2 separate regions of the Homo sapiens genome follow, and region 1 is linked to region 2. The links are contacts of gene promoters, found by promoter capture Hi-C in human tissues and cell types (Jung and others, 2019). All regions are on one chromosome and are shown on one strand. Each heading gives the region's core, a stretch centred on a gene start or on the middle of the fragment in contact. The rest is flanking DNA. Distances are from core to core; before and after follow the strand shown.

The links. The method cuts DNA at HindIII sites, captures the fragments that hold promoters and counts their contacts. A contact is called where the count stands out against the background at its distance.
Region 1: a contact is called between a fragment that was not itself captured here and the fragment with the promoter of MYSM1 in region 2, in 1 of the 25 tissues and cell types used here (lymphoblastoid cells).

Annotation. Positions count from the first base shown.
Region 1 is chr1:58,212,613-58,215,312 of GRCh38, forward strand. It overlaps a transcript of DAB1 not described here. Among named protein-coding and RNA genes, the nearest start is that of OMA1, 330 kb to the right of the region's middle. The HindIII fragment of the contact is 4,036 bases long and covers 1-2,700 here.
Region 2 is chr1:58,698,736-58,701,435 of GRCh38, forward strand. It overlaps MYSM1 (Myb like, SWIRM and MPN domains 1), which reads right to left and starts at 1,327. Exons shown (of 20, transcript NM_001085487.3): 1 at 1,250-1,327. The coding sequence starts at 1,317. RefSeq lists enhancers at 822-881, 1,092-1,501. The HindIII fragment of the contact is 3,101 bases long and covers 1-1,968 here.

The DNA of each region.
Region 1 (2,700 bases), core at 135-2,634, 490 kb before region 2:
TGAAGCTCTTTGAAATTAAGATAAATGCAGCTGGTGGGGGAAACTTAAACTCATCTTATCTCATATTAACTTAATGGAGTATTCAGCACTTCAAGACTTTTTATTTTTCCCATCACCCCACCCCTAATTAGGAGAAAAACATCATGAAGACAGAAGGAGTGAACCAGGGTACATTTTATTGGAATGATTTCTAATTTCCTCTGATTCAAGTTCCATTTGGGAACACATCAGCTGGTTGTTAAAAACTTTTAGTTAAATAAGACAAACAGAGCTGGTGGAGGGGGTGGAGTTATCAGTGTTCCAGATCCAACAGAGTTAAGAAAACCTCAACCCTTACTTGGTATTTTGCTGCCTCAGAATGCTGGTTCTTAGAGCCCATTTAAAAAGCTAAAATAACTTCCAAAAAAGAAACAAACAAAATAGACGTAACACTGCAGCTGTGTTTTTCAGATCAGTATTTTAAGGTAAGGACTTGATGTTAGAAAGGAAGAATCTACAGTAATCCGAAAAGGTCAATGTGATCTGATTTGCAAAGGTCAAATTTGGTATAAGGAATGAAAGTGAAGAGTTATATGGCTTCAGGCAACTGATTCTTTTGTTGGCCTCAGTTTCCACATCTCTAAGAGGGGTTTTGAGAATCTTTGAGGTCTATTCCAATCCAGACATTTCATAAAGAGAGATTTTAAGTCTTAAGATTAAAGGCAGGGTCATTGTATTAGTCTGTTCTTATGCTGCTAATAAAGACATACCCGAGACAGGGTAATTTATAAAGGAAAGAGGTTGAACTGAGTCACAGTTCAGCATGGCTGAGGGGAGGGACCTCAGGAAACCTACAATCACAGTGGAAGGCAGGCACATCCTTCTTCATATGGTGGCATCAAGAAGTGCAGAGCGAAGGCCGGGAAGAGCCCCTTATAAAACCACCAGATCATGTGAGAACTCACTCACTACCATGAGAACAGCATGGTGGTAACCACCACCATGATTTAATTACCTCCCACTGGGTCCCTCCCACAACACCTGGGGATTATGGGAACTACAATTCAAGGTGAGATTTGGGTAGGGACATAGCCAAACCATATCACTTATATAAGTTTGGACAAAGCCAACTTCCTTTCTTGAATTACAGAAGTGTCTGGATCTGTAGTCTACCACTTTGTGCTTTCCTAAATTGGGACTTCAGTACCTGTACTCCTCATTCAACAATATTTATGTCTGATGACTTCACCTCCTACTTGTTTCCCATGCCTGCCCACTGGAATCCATCCACCCTTCTCTGTTTCTTTGCCATAACCTTAGGCCAAGCCATATCATCTCTTACGTGGATTACTCCAAAGGGCTTTTAATTGTAATCCTGCCTGAGTCTTGTGCCCACTTAACTCTATCTTTCACACTGCTTCTGAAATGCAAAACATGTCACCCTCCAGGTTAAAACATTTCAATATCTCAACATAGTTACACGGGAAAAAAGATCTTCATCCACCTGCTCCTGATTGCCTTTCCACCCTTATTTTCTGCAGCCTCCTGTCATAAACTTCTGGCTCTGTGACCTCAAAATCCTACATGCCATGCCCTGCCATTAAAGCCTCCAAGTCTTTATTTGGACTATTCTGTCTCCTCTTTCAGTTGGGTAACTTCTTCATGAAGCCTCTGAACTAGACGCCTCACTGAAGCCCCATTTGAACAAAGTTCCCCTGTTGTGTGCTCACATATTACCCTATTCAAACCTTTTGCTTATCACTGACTGACTTATGCTTAAACCTGAAGGAATATCAGTACTTACGGGCTGCACTTGGAGCTAAAAGCTGACAAAGGAGATTCAAAAAGATAAACCAGGGAGGCTGCACATACCAGGAGAGTGTGGCAGAGAAAAGCCAAAAGAAAGTAAGAAAGAGGGAGTGGTCCCCTATATAAAATTGTGCTTGGACATCTGGTGAAATGAGTTCTGAAAAGTGGCCACTGGATTGAGCAACATAGAAATCCTGGGTGACCTCAGTAACAGCTATTAGGGTTTGTTAAATAATGAATAAACACATGGATTAGTTTCTCTACTCCTCTCAATTCTTGTTTACAAGCTTGCTAGCTTTCAGAAGCAGTAGGCTTGTAGAAACAATATTTTTGCAACATTTCTTTTCAAATGAGATTATGTCTGATGTTGGATCAAGGCTAAGCTTTTGACTAAGATCACCATTTCCAGACAAGCAAATCTAAAGTAACTGCTCTTGGGGCAGGCCACTGTGGCCTCATGGTGCTCTTTGGCCTCTACCTAGAGTGAGTGAGCAATCCTGGAAAATCTAATCGCATGAGGTAAAAAGTCAGAGATGGGGTTTTCCTTCCAGCATAGGATTTTCAGCATGGGCAGGTTTCAGAGGGCCTCTATCAGAGAAGTCAATGAATCAAAGGGCATTTGCAGAGATGCTGTCTTCCCCTTGCCCATACATCTGCAGAAATAGGCCTTACTGAAACCATTAGCATAAAAACTGCATGTTTTGTAAGGTTGACTTCTTTGACCCCCTCTTCTATCATCTTCTTACTGGTTCTCTAGGCTATAATCATCCCAATCTTCTACGTGTCCCTTGCACACTTCAAATATTTTTGCAACTCTGGGCCTCTGTCTTTGCCATTCCATTTACCTAAAATTCTTCCCCAAGATCCTTGCAAGGCTAGCTCCTTCTTGTCATTCAGGTCTCAAGTCAAATG
Region 2 (2,700 bases), core at 77-2,576:
CTTGGTCAAGATTTAAACACTAAATGAATGTCAACAAGTATTGTTATTAAGGGCTCCCTACTCATCTGCAAAGCTTTGAGGGACAATGACCATATGAGTTTAATCACCCCTCACGTCTTTATAGGGCTTTAGAGTTCATGATACACTTCTAAACACACTATCTTAGTGCCTCAAGCGCTGGGTTAGTACTTCTCCCCTGTTCACAGAGGCCCTAATATTAGGCTGAACTACATGAAGTTGCCGCTTTATAGAACAAAAATGGTCTAAATATTGGCAATTTCATATGGTTCAAGCTAATACAGTTCTAAGGAAATTGTACATAATTATAAACAACATAGCTGGCTGACTTTAGAACTCAGGCTTTCTGATTCCTGGCTAGTCTAGGACTCTTCATGACTAAAAGGAGACTCATTTTTGATTCAGAAAGCAAGGAGTCAAAGGAGGTTCTGTGTCAAATCACACTGGGCTGTTTGTTCTGCTGGAACAGGTATTTTAAAAAATGTGATCCCTTACTGGATTCTCACAGTACTGTCCCCGAGGGTAACAGGATGGTAAAGAATACATTCAGAGGGCACCTACCGTATGCTAAAGCATATCTCATAATCATTTCATTTGATCCTCCCAATTACATATCATGACTCCCAGTTTAAATATGAGCAGTCTGAGGCTCAGACAAGTTAAGTGTCTTGCCCAAGGTCACATTGCTATTAACTGGTAGGGCGAGCAAATGCAGAAGGAAAACCCAGAACTGTCCAACTCTAAAACCTGGCCCATTTAAGTCAACCTGCTTCTCGGGAAGTTTTACAACTATCCCCATGTGGAAGAAGGGATGAAACGACTCGCCCAAGGTCACACGGCTAGCAAGCCATAGAACAAGAGTCCCTGACCTCAGGTCTCGTCCGTAGCCGCTCTTGTTCTAGTTACTGTCGATGAGATCCTGAAAAGGAGGGAACGGAAGAAGGAATCTAAATGTAAATCAAACGCAATGTGGTAGGCGAAATCGGTGCCCTCACAGCATCCGGCAAAAGGTGAAAGCGACCCAGGAGTACCTGAGCTCCAGGTAACCGCCCTGCCCGCTGGGCTTGGGACAAGCCGGCGGGCGAGGTGCCTCCCAGGCCAACAAGAGACCCTGGCCCAGGGGACAGTCTTCTGTTCCCTTTTCCCTTGCCGGACCTGCAGCTTTCCCAGGGCCCGCTCCTTCAATCCACTCCCCTCTCCGCCCCAGAGAGACCCGGTCTCTAAGCCTCACCCTGGCTGTGCCCCCGCCGCCGCTACCACGTCCCCTTCGATATCCACATCCGCCTCTTCAGCCGCCATGATGGGACCTGACCCCGTCCGTCCTCCCGAGAGATCCCGCGAGACGAAGATGGCCCGGGGGCAGGGCCTAACGCGTCACGGGGCGGGATTGAAGCGTCGTCCGGCCCCTCCCGTGCCGGGAGGCGGGGTTTCCAGAGCAAAGGCGCCCCCAGAGGCCTGGGGCTTGGTCCTTTCTAACTTGTTGACATGTAGAGACCTTGGGAAGTGGCCCACGCCTGAGCTTTTTTTTTTTGAGAGGGAGTTTCACTCTTGTTGCCCAGGCTTGGGTGCAATGGCGCGTATCTCAGCTCACTGCAACCTCCACCTCCCGGGTTCAAGCGATTCTCCTGCCTCAGCCTCCCAAGTAGCTGGGATTACAGGCATGCGCCACCACGCCCGGCTAATTTTTGTATTTTTAGTAGATACAGGGTTTCACCATGTTGCCCAGCTGGTCTCGAACTCCCGACCTCCCGACCTCAGGTGATCCGCCCGCCTCGGCCTCCCAAAGCTCTGAGATTACAGGCGTGAGCCACCGCGCCCGGGCCCTCCTGAGCTTCTAAGAGCTTCTGTTCTTGCACACATTCTTTGGGACCTCACTGCTCTCACTGATAAAATGGGGATAACAGCAGTATCTTTCTGGACTGATGAAAAAGTCAAGCTAGACCCGCTTTGTGAACTGAAGGTTGCATACCTGCTGGTTATTTAAGTCTCTCTCTTTGTTTTTTAAAGAAAAGGGTCGTGCAGCACTTATGTGAAGTCGTTCAGCATTTCACCTAAGTGCTGAACAACTTTTATTTTAAAATTCAACAAATATTTAAGAATATAACTTATGATTGTGTAATTTATTTTGTAGACGTCTTTGCAATTTAAAAATCACGCTCATGACCATTAATCCTTACAGTGTCCCAGTGAGGTAGGCAGAGCTAATATCACCAGTTATACTTTACAGGTGAGGTAACTGAGGCCTGGAGAGCTGAAATGACTGTCCAAGGACAGGTAGCTTCAAAGACAGAGCCAGGAGTAGAATCCAGGCTTTGTTGACCCTCTACTGAGTGCTCACCATGTAACAATCATGTTGTTAGAAATTGGAGGATAAACACCACTTCTGTCTAGTTTATAGTTTCTCAAGAAATTAGATACTGACAGCCAGATGCGGTGGCTCACACCTGTAATCCCAGCACTTTGGGAGGCCAGGGAGGGCGGATCACAAGGTCAGGAGTTCGAGACCAGCCTGACCAACATGGTGAAACCCCGTTTCTACTAAAAATACAAAAATTAGCTGGGCGTAGTGGTGGGCAACTGTAGTCCCAGCTACTCAGGAGGCTGAGGCACAAGAATCGCTTGAACCCAGGAGGCAGAGGTTGCAGTGAGCCGAGATCACGCCATTGCATTCCAGCCTGGGTG